Linked DNA regions of Homo sapiens: regions 1 and 2 are each linked to region 3. The links are contacts of gene promoters, found by promoter capture Hi-C in blood cells and fetal thymus (Javierre and others, 2016). All regions are on one chromosome and are shown on one strand. Each heading gives the region's core, a stretch centred on a gene start or on the middle of the fragment in contact. The rest is flanking DNA. Distances are from core to core; before and after follow the strand shown.

Region 1 (3,809 bases), core at 746-3,245, 1.5 Mb before region 3:
TGACCCACAGCTAGTGAAGGAAGAATTGAGACTGGAACCCAGGTCTCTGGCTCTAGAGCCTTTGCTTTTACGCACACACCAAGTATCTCCCAACTCCAGAGGTCCTGAGCTTCCCTCACAGGGTGCTGGTGATGCAGTGTCAGAAGAGAGGAAGATACCCTGCTCAGCCCCACTCAGCCAAGGTAACGCTAATGGTCAGTCAGTCCTCAGAGAGCTGGGATGCCCTTCTTCTCCCTGCTTACCTCTGCCTGGCCCACCTCTCCTCCCTCAGATCCAGGCCTCTGCAGAGGGCCGGCCCAATTCTGGGAGCATCCTGCCTGCTAAGGTTAGAGAGCTAGGCCTGAAGAAAAGGGATACATTTTTAGCAATAATAATTATGCAAACCTGGACGTAGAAATATAATCCAGAAGGAGGCTTCATTTGCCCACAAAAGAGCTCTACATTGAAGGAGAGGCTTGGAGAATCTTTGCATGTACAGTTTATATAAGCAAGCTTCATAATTATATCTTTTTCAATGAAATTAATTTAAAAATATCACTTGGGTATAAAAGAGACTGGGAAAAAAAATCTGTATAAAAAGCAAATGGGGTTCTTAAACAAGCCCATAAAATCTCTTCATTGACACAGAGATGGGGGTCGGCAAGGAGACTTTTCGAAAGATTCTCTAGGTATGAAATACTGGTTAGGAAATGCCCTCTACCTGGTTGGAGGTAGGAAGATGGGGGTTATCAGGACACAGGCCTTGCTAAGTCCTCAGGGTCTCGCTGTCTAAAAGTTTCCACACTCAAGGGCTCCAGGCCCTCCCTGTACACCACAGGATAAGTGCTGAGATTCTGGAGTCAGAGAAAGCCAGGGCTGGATTTAAGCTGTGTGCTTTCTTCTCCTACTGAAAATACGGAGAAGTCCATTCTCACCCCTGCAGTCAGAGTGATCCTTCTGAATCAGATCAAAGTACTGATCTGCTCAAAATCCTGCGATGGCTCCCCACTTCCCTTAATGGCAGCCTACGTCCTTGGAAGCACTGGCCTGAGGTCCTTTTAAGTTCTTAGTAGAAACCCAAGCCACCTAAGGTGAAAACTGTTAAGCTCCAATCACCCTGACTCATATGCTAACCTTGTTCACTTTTCTCTAGCCACATTGTCCTCCTGGCTACTTGTCCTCCAACAATGCCAGACGCAGCTCCTACTTGATGGCCCTTGTATTGCTTCTTCCTTGGCCTAACCAATGGGTTCACCTCCTTTATGTCTCTGCCTACATATAAACTTCTTAATGAGACTCACCCTGTGAAATTATTACTATCTCTGTCTGCACCCCTTTTCCTTCCCTGATTTTTTTCCCTGATCACCTTCTTGGTATACAATTAATTGATTTGTAAATTTTATTTTTTTTGGATGCCACTTTCCCCTCTAGTTCAATCTACATAAAACTAGAAGTGTTTGTTTGTTTCAGTCATTAATAGATTCCAAGGACCTAGCATGGTGCTTAACATATAGTACGTGCTTAATAACTTATGGCTGAATTAATGAATGAATGTTTAATGCTCACAAGCCACTTCTTCTCCAAGCCTCCGTTTTCTCTTCTCTAAATGGCAGTAAAAATAATACTGCAATGAACGGCTGCTGCTTTTGTCTACCTGGTATTCCTTCTACATTTGATAAGAGAGCTCCTCTTTCCTAAACCCATTTCATGTGGTTCTGATAGCAGCAATCACAGAGTTGCTATGGTCACCCCGGCTGCCCTGGCAATCAGGGAACACCACCATTTCCCTGGTCATGGTGGTGCACAAAAAGGCATGCGTTTCAAGCAGGGCCAATCCATGAGACTAGGTCAATGCTCTCTGGATGAAGGGCCATTTGGAGGAGCCTGTGCTGGCAGGGCCATGTGGGCTGTGGCTGTCAGCAGTGATTTTACAAACTCTTGAAGGCAGCTTGCTCGGGATGTAGCCAAGCAGCATCAGGCAAAGCAGAGAGTTGCCTCGAGAAAGAACAGAGCTCGTGCTCTTTTTGAAAATAGGGTCTAGCTGGAAGAGAGCTGAGGCAAACAGACCCTGGGAATGGACAGGACTAATATGGAGCGACAAACTGCGGAGCCAAAAGCAGAAATTCCTCTGCCTAGGATGGCATCCTTCAATTTTTGCTTGGCAAATTCCTGCTCATCCTTCAGAACCTCATTTGAGGACTTCTTGCTCCCCTAGATCTCATGGGCTGAATTGATCACGATTCCCTTTGTGCCCCATTGTACCAGGTTTCAACTGTATCAAATTCATCACTACAAATTGTAGTCATCCATTGTGTTCATTTGCTAGAAATGCCATAACAAAATAGCACAGTCTGGGGGGCTTAATAGAAATGTATTTTCTCATGGTTCCAGAGGCTGGAAGTCCAAGATCAAGGTGTCGACAGTGACGGTTCCTTCCGAGGCTTCTCTCCACGGCTTCACCCTGTCTTCACTTGGCCTTTCCTCTTTGTGTGCATCCCTGGTATCTCTGTGTGTGTCTAAATGTCCTTTTCTTAGAAAGACATGAGTCAGATTACATGAGGGCCCACCCTAATGGCTTCATTTTAACTTATTTACCTCTTTAAAGGCTTTATTTCCAAATGCAGTCACATTCTAAGGTGAGGGTTAGGGATTCAACATATGAATTTAGAGGGACAAAATTCATCCCACAAAATCTACTTTCCTACTTCCTCCACCAAGTTACTTGAGGTCAGATGGAAGCTGCTTAATAAATGTTTGATTAAGAAAGGATTAACAAGATGAGTGAATGAAGAGAAATCATTGTGCTGCCTCAGGCCTAGATAGATCCTTCCTTTGGCACCAGTGGTCACTTTCTAGTCTCTCCTCAGACTGGTCTGGGAAAATTAAGTCTTCCAGAGAAGGCTGAGGTTATTGGAGTTTCTTCTGCCCTGTTTCAGGGTGGGCCAGGTGCCAAGGGGATGCCTACGTGCCAAAGGCCAAGAATCAGTTTTGTTATTTTAATCCCATTTAAAATCTTTCTAGCCTCTACTCTCTTACTGACTTCCCACATCTGGTAAATTTCCTGAGCTGTCAATTCTTCTCCTAGAGTAGCTATCACTTCTCTCAATTTTTGTGAGGCTGGCAGAAACCCTGACTAGCTCTTTCTTAGATCAGAGTACCAATCTCCTAACTAGCTGGTCTGTCACCACCGTCCCCACTTTAATATACCCTATCCTTGTGATTGTAATCTATCTGAAATCAGTGCCAACTGTGCCATTCATATGCTAAGAAAGCTCTGATCTGCCCTACTGTCTAAAAGTCTAGGTCCCCTTTACATTCCTCCACATGCCCTTCAGACCTTTTGCGATATTGATTTCATCCATCTCTCCAGGGTCCTCTGTCGTCTTCAGTCTCCTGCCACACCAAGGCCACGTCTCTGTGCCTCCTCATATGTTTTTCTACAGCCTGCAACACATCTCTTCCCCTTCTCCCACAAGGATCCCGTGCTTCACAGGCCAACTCAACATTACATGCTTATCCAAAGCTTCCCAAGAACCAAGTTTAGTTATACTTTGAGCTGTTTACCATAGACTCTACCATTTTGCATTATAGCTTTTTTGTGCATGTGTATGTTTATCTACATCTGCTAGACTGTGAGTACTTTGATGGGGAAAAAAAATCAGTCATTTTTTTTTTTTATTTGAGACAGAGTCTCGCTCTGTTGCCCAGGCTGGAGTGCAGTGGCGCAATCTCAGTTCACTGCAACCTCTGCCTCTTGGGTTCAAGCGATTCTCCTGCCTCAGCCTCTCGAGTAGCTGGGAATACAGGTGCCCACCACCACGCCTGGCTAT
Region 2 (3,595 bases), core at 341-2,840, 1.5 Mb before region 3:
CTGCCTTGATTTTGCACTTCCCACCCTCTAGAACTGTGAGAAATGAATTTCTATTGTTTACAAGCCACCTACTTTATGGTAATTTGTGACAGCAATCTGAATAGAGTCAGATGTTGTTAGATATTCACATATTCCCACTTTCTCTGTTTTTATTCCATCCTATGGCTCAGACCTTCAATCTGGCATCAGTTTTCTTCTGCCTGAAATTTTTTTTTTCAGAATTTCTTTTAGTGAGAGTCAGCTGCTAAGAAATATATAGTTTAATTTACCTGAAAATGTTTTAGTTTTGCCCCCATTCCTGAGAGATGTGTTTTCTGGATAGAGAATTTGAGGACAGCAGTACCCCTCACAGCACCCATCACACACAAACACACAAAATAAAGATATCATTCCATTTCTTTGGATTCAATTGCTGCAGTTCAAAAGTCAGCTGTTCGTCTATCATTGCCTTAAAGACAACGCTTCCCTTCAGTGCCCTGCCATTACCACCACCAACACCACCAAGCTTCAGCTTTTTATCTCTGGGGTGTTCACCAGTTTTCCTATAATGTGTTTAACTTGGCTTTTCTTTAATTTTTTTCTGTTTCTGATTCATTGAATTCCTTGGGTCTCTAAATTAATGTCTTTTGCCATTTCTGGAAATTTCTAAACTGTTATATCTTCAGATATTTCTTTTTAAACATGTTATCTATGCCCTCCTTCTGGGAGTCTGAAAATATGCTAAGACCATTTCACTTAATGTTTTATGTCTCATAACTTCTCTATCACATTATAGGTCTCTTTGTTTATGTTATAATCTGGATGATTTATTCTGAATCTGTTTTACAATTTACCAATTATTTTTTAGCTGTCTCTAATCTATGGTTAAAACTGATCATTGAGTTTTTAATTTTAATCGTCTCTTTATTTGAAAAATTTCTAATTTTTGTCAAATCTGCTGTCATTTTTTGTGGATTTCCACTCCACAGATTTTTAAAGCTTTCCTTTTAATGTATTTAAACACAATATAGTTAATTATTTATTAAACTGTGTCTGACAATTCTAGTATCTTAGGTCTTTGCAAAACTTTGCCTGTTGCCTTTGTTTGTTTGTTTGCTGCTTCTTACTTATGGTTTATTGTCTCCTTGTTCTTTTTGGACTGTGAGCTGCTGCGTTTATTTGGAAAATTATTTCTGGGCCTTCTTCAAGGATAGAATGATAGTGCATTCCTCCAGAGAGTACTGATATTTGCCTCTGCAATTTGAATCTGCGCAGTTTGAAGATTTATTTTTTATTTTTTTATTTTTGTTTCCCCAAGACGGAGTCTTGCTCTGTCGCCCATGCTAGAGTGCAGTGGAATGATCTCAGCTCACTGCAACCTCTGCCTCTCGGGTTCAAGCAATTCTCCTGCCTCCGCCTCCCAAGTAGCTGGGATTACAGACACCTGCCACCATGCCTTCCTATTTTTTTGTATTTTTAGTAGAGATGGAGTTTCACCATGTTGGCCAGGCTGGTCTCGAACTCCTGACCTCCTGATCCACCCGCCTCGGCCTCCCAAAGTGCTGGGATTACAGGCATGAGCCACCGTGCCTGGTCTGAAGATTATTTTTAACAATTATTGTGAATTTGGACTCTCAGTATGTGTTAGGGATAATTTGTGGTGACAACTTCTCAGAGACTATTTTCTCAGTACCAAGGCAGATTTCTATGTGGCCCCTGCAGGAAAGGAGAGACACAGGTTTATTGTGGTGTATTAGGCAAAACAGATTTATTTTTGGTTGGATCCCAGCTTTACAGGCATATGTTGTTTAGCGGATTCTCCTCCTGGGAAAGCGTGGCCTTTGGTGTGTGGCTTCCACACTCTGTATTTTAATCTGATTTGCCCAATACTCTCAGGAAAATGTGGCCATGAGTGTCCCCTTACATCTCTGGTTTCCTGCCTTTACATAGATTTTGACCAGATAATTTCTTACTATATTATAAGCTCTTCTGTGTTTATTATATAAAAATATATTTTGGATAGCATTTCAGATATTTTCAGAAGGAGAACTTACTCAAAAAACCTAACCAGCCACACTACTTAAGCTGAAATTGTCTTCTTTCTTGACATCTTAGCTATGTTAGAGTAAGCTCAATATTGTGGCTCCAGTGACACGTGGGGTCTTGGAGGAAAGGATGGCTGTTTTACATAGATTTCAGGATTTCTAACAATCAGTATCAGAAAGAAGCTTATGTCATTCATTTGTGAGATAAGTTTTACTATTTATTATTATTATTATTTTTAGAGAGAGCCTCACTCTGTTGCCAGGCTGGAGTGCAGTGGTGTGATCTCAGCTCACTACAACCTCCGCCTCCTGGGTTCAAGCGATTCTCCTGCCTCAGCCTCCCGAGCAGCTGGGACTACAGGCGCACACCACCACGCCCAGCTAATTTTTGTATTTTTAGTAGAGACAGGGTTTCACCATGTTGGCCAGGATGGTCTCCATCTTTTGACCTCGTGATTGGCCCACCTTGGCCTCCCAAAGTGATGGGATTACATGCTTTATAATTTTTATGATAATAAAAACTACAAATTTATTTGTGAATTTATAAAATTAAATGAATGAGAAAATTATTAAACACCCAATCATTATTTTACTAGTGTTGTTTTGGTATTTTATAGACACATGTTTGAATATGTATGTGGGTTATATAAATACATATACACACATATGTGTATATAAATACACACATATATATACACAAATATGTTTATGATATTAGATTATATTAACTATGTGCCCTGCATCTATTTTTCTCCTGATATATACACATGATGCACTATTAATTGACTGTGACCATCAGTTGACCAATAATGCATTTTGTTAACTATAGTCACCATGCTGTACAATAGATCTGTAAACTTATTCTTCCTGTCTAACTGAAACTTGTACCCTCTGACCAATATCTCTGTTTTCCCAACCCACCCCTCCCCAGATTCTGCTAACCACCTTTCTACTCTCTACGTCTGTGAATTTGATTTTTTTTTTTTTTAGATTTCACATATAAGTGAGGTCATGTGGTATTTGTCTTTCTGTGTCTGATTGTTGTTCTATTTCAGATATTCAGAGGGCTCTTGATACATTCTGGCCTGTTAAAATGGATTCCACAACTAAATGACAATTATTTGTTATATGGGAATAATAATAAATGCCTCCTTCACACACAGATGTGAGGCTATAAAAATTAAATGCGACGAGCTAGATCAAATCCCAGGATCTGGTTCTTGCTAGGTACCAAAACCTGTGTCCCCATAGTATTGCTATTACTCCAATTTCTGTGAACGTAGCTATGCAATTGCAATCCAAAAAGTTCCAAGTGATAAGATTCCAGTGTCTAAATCACCTGCTTTTCCTGCCCCACCTTTTCCTACTCCTCCACCACCACCACCACCACCACCACCACCACTGGTCATTCTCATCCTCTCTAATCATTTACGCTATTAGTACAATTTTCTAAAGAATTAATTAGGAAATTATTTTACCTTAGCCTTAGCTTGAAGTTAAATAGCATTACTTGATTTATTTGGGATTCTTAATATGTAAAATATTGTATTGCAGAAGGCAAAGAATAATGG
Region 3 (3,508 bases), core at 680-3,179:
GCCCAGTGAGACCAGGGTCAGACTTCTGACCCACAGAACTCTCAGGTAATAAATGTGTGTTGTCTTAAGGCACTAAATTCACAGTAATTTGTTACAGTGGCCATAGAAAACTAATACCTGAGGCTTGACCATGGTGGCAGAAAATTCTGTGAACATCTGGTTCCTTCCTGACTGGTACTCCGCATCAATCATTAGTTGTTTTTGAATCTCACTCCCATTTACTAAATAGCAGCAATTTGATTCCCAAGAACAAAGAAAGAATCTGAATCTCCTAAAATGTTCCCATACTCATAATACCACTGAGTCCTTACAGTCCTGCTAGAAATAAAAATCCATAGCGAAGCTTAGCAATTTCTGGTTGCTAAAAGGAGATAATTTGGAACAGGGTGGAATCTCGCATTTATTAATGGGTTATCATTCATGATCAGGTTCGGACTCTAGGTAATGAAAGACCAGTAAAGCTTAGGGGGACATGGCCACCTGGTGCTGAATCTCTCCTTCCTCTTCCAGTCCCATCCCAGAGGGAGGCAGGTCAGGACTAGAGTAAGATTAACTTCCAGAAGAAAGGCTTTCCCTCAATTCCCGGCCTGGAGCAACCAGCCACCAGCTGAATCTAGCCCTGTGGACCCCGGTACCTCCTGCCTTAGCAGCAATGCTTTTGCCATTTCAAATCTGCCACTTCAAATACGGGGACTGAGTATTTGAGTCAGGAAAGAGTCCCTTGAGCTCCTTCTCAGCTTATCCAGAAAGATGCAGAAGGGGATAGACAATTGAAATCAGCCTGAGGCATGCAGCGTGGCTGGCCAAATGAGACTGCATACCCAGAAATGGCCTGGCACAGACTCTTTTTAGCAAGACTGAAGCTGCGCTTTTTGGAAATGAAGATACAATCTTATGTAAACCATATTAAGAGGTTGGTAGGCTGGGGCAGTGGAAAGAGACCTTGCTTGGGATTTCGGAGCCCTGAATTTTATTGTGGCCTCTGATACTGATTCACAGAGTCCCTTCAACTTGATATGCCTCAGTTTCCCTTCATGTGCTGTCAGGGGCTGTGTCAGACGACCTGCCCGCTTCGCTGCACTATGAGCTTTGCTCTGCTTCAGGAATCAATTGCTGACCAAAAAGAGAAATAGAATTGTTCGCCAAAGACCCAGAGTGTCTTGATCCTGGGGTATCCTACGGCTCCTCGGATCTCCTCCTGGTCTCACACCCGCATCCCTTACCTTCCAGTCTGAGGCAGCCTGAGGACTGTGGGAGGGGAGGAAAGATCACGCCCTGATATTGGATGGAGATGGAGAGATTCCAAGAGAACTAACAGCAGAGTCTCAGGAAGGGTTTGCTCACTGAATGGAGAGGTCAGGACTGGGACGGAGCTTAGCAGCAGCCGCTGGGCAGCAGCCCCTGCGCTCCCCAGCTGCCCTGTGCTCCTGGCCGAATCACAGGGGAGTGAGAGCTTCAGGAGACCCACATCTCTAGCCTGGACACATGAGTGATATTGGGCATCTCCCTCCCCTTCTCTGGACCTCAGTTTCCCCCACAGGATTCATCCGGGAGGGGCCTCTTTCCCCCGCACCACGGTCGGCCTGAGGCCGGGATGAAGCGCGCTTGGTGGATGCCCTGGGCTTCTCCTCGTTCGATGCTCACGCGTCCCTCCCGCCGCCCGCCTGTACCTGCACCGCGGGCGCGGCCAGGCTCGCTGGTCCCGGAAGCGGGCGCGCCGTCGGGAGCCGCAGGAGAGGGGCGGCGTCCAGGGCTGCCCCCGGGACCTCGGGTCTCCAGCCTCCGGAAGCCCGGGCGGGCCACGGGGTCGGGGGCGGCGGAGGGCAGCAGCAGCAGCGGCCAGAGCAGCAGGAGGAGTCCCGGGAGGCGGCGCGCGGGGGCCGGGCGCGGCATGGTGGGCTCCGTGGGCCTGGTGGTGTCCGTCGGGGGCCAGGAGCCCACGCGAGGCTCGGATTTAAAGGTCCCGCGGCCTCGGGCCCCGCCCCGCCCCGGGGCCTCGAGCGCCAGGCCGGCCCGGCGAACCCCGCCCAAGGCCAACAAGGAGCCTTGTCCGCGCATTCCAGCGGCAGAAACGGAATGTCTGGGCGAGGCGGCCAGCGGCGCGGTGGTCACCTCCCGCCCCTGCCCTAAGCCCCGAGCCGGCTGCAACTGGGTGGGCTCGGCTGCTGTCGCAACCTCCGTCCTCCCAGTAACACCGGGGCAGGGGGGGCAGCCATCCGCGGCTGCAGCCTGCCCGGCCCTCCACTCTCCCTCCCACCCCAGCGGGGCCTGCGCCCCAGGTACGGGATGGGGACCCCTGGGCTCTGCTTTCCCTTCTGCCACTGGTTTGCCCGACTGGGGCTGAAGATGAAACCCTGCTCCTAGCTCTACATTCCTTTCCTCAGCCAAGTAACCCAAGTTTTGCTGTGGGCTCTTGTTTAAAAAAAAAAAAAGAAAGAAAAGGCCTCACAGATTCTAGGGGCATGAATAGAAACGCTTTCATCCGAGCTTCAAATATCCACAAACATTTGAACTTATATTACCGGGAATAGAAAGTCAAACATACATTCCCCAGAGAGCCCCGTTAGCTGGAAGGACAGCCTGTACCAACACAGGCTTCAAAGGCTCTCCCGAGGCCCCATTTCCTCTCCGGAAGAGTTAGCATGGTACAGGGCTGGAGGCTGCCAGGGGACCCCCATGGAACTCACTGTCTGTGAGAAGGAGATTTGCATAAATGTGGTGTCTGTCTACGGGAATGTGGTGGATTTAGGAAAGAGATACTGACTGCCTGCGGAGACCAGGAAGACTTCTAAAACCAGGTGACATTTGAGCTGCGTCTTAAAACAATGGGCGCGAGTTCCAACAGAGCCTATCTGGTCGTCCTATTTCACTATTTTCCCTCTACAAGTGATCCTCCTCACACGATCCTAAACCTCACTTCTCATATTTGTACCCCATGCTGGTAGCAGCATTATACACAATAGCCAAGAGGCGGAAACAACCCAAGTGTCTCTCTTTGTGTGAATGGAAAAGCAAAATGCAGTATCTACGTACAATGGAATACTGTTCAGCCTTAAAAGGGAGGAAATTTTGGCAGATGCTACAAAATGGATGAACCTTGAGAGTATTATGTTAAGTGAAATAAGCTAGTCACAAAAAGACAAATACTGTATGATTCCATTTACATGGGGAATCTAGAGTAGTCAAATTCATAGAGACAGAAAGAATGGTGGTTAACAGGAGCTGAGGGGAAGTGGGGATGGGGAGTTGTATAATGTATCAATGACATTGGGCAGTGATAGTCACACTGAGGGAAAAGGTCACTCAACTCCCACTGAGAACTCACCAATTTAGAAGGACCTTAGAAGAAACGAGAAGTTTGTAATAATGGGAAGAGGACACTAAGAAGTTTGAAAGAAACTATGCCAAGAAGAGGAGGGATTGATAAATACAGTATTTGCAAGCTCTGGTGGACATTTGTCTTTCGTCTTGCTTTTAGAATGATCCCCAAAGCCTTTGAACCCTACAT

The links. The method cuts DNA at HindIII sites, captures the fragments that hold promoters and counts their contacts. A CHiCAGO score of 5 or more calls a contact.
Region 1: a contact is called between a fragment that was not itself captured here and the fragment with the promoter of MATN3 in region 3, in 8 of 17 cell types (non-activated CD4 T cells, total CD8 T cells, naive B cells and 5 more). The highest score is 7.8, in non-activated CD4 T cells.
Region 2: a fragment that was not itself captured here is called in contact with the fragment with the promoter of MATN3 in region 3 in 6 of 17 cell types (naive CD8 T cells, total CD4 T cells, fetal thymus and 3 more); the score reaches 6.9 in naive CD8 T cells.

Annotation. Positions count from the first base shown.
Region 1 is chr2:18,531,712-18,535,520 of GRCh38, forward strand. LOC105373454 (a long non-coding RNA gene) reads left to right here. Exons shown (of 8, transcript XR_001739302.1): 8 at 1-3,681. Among named protein-coding and RNA genes, the nearest start is that of RDH14, 27 kb to the right of the region's middle. The HindIII fragment of the contact is 3,010 bases long and covers 491-3,500 here.
Region 2 is chr2:18,510,543-18,514,137 of GRCh38, forward strand. All of the region lies in intron 6 of LOC105373454 (a long non-coding RNA gene), which reads left to right. Among named protein-coding and RNA genes, the nearest start is that of RDH14, 48 kb to the right of the region's middle. The HindIII fragment of the contact is 1,229 bases long and covers 977-2,205 here.
Region 3 is chr2:20,010,739-20,014,246 of GRCh38, forward strand. MATN3 (matrilin 3) reads right to left here and starts at 1,930. Exons shown (of 8, transcript NM_002381.5): 1 at 1,671-1,930. The coding sequence starts at 1,893. RefSeq lists an enhancer at 1,034-1,646. The HindIII fragment of the contact is 3,809 bases long and covers 460-3,508 here.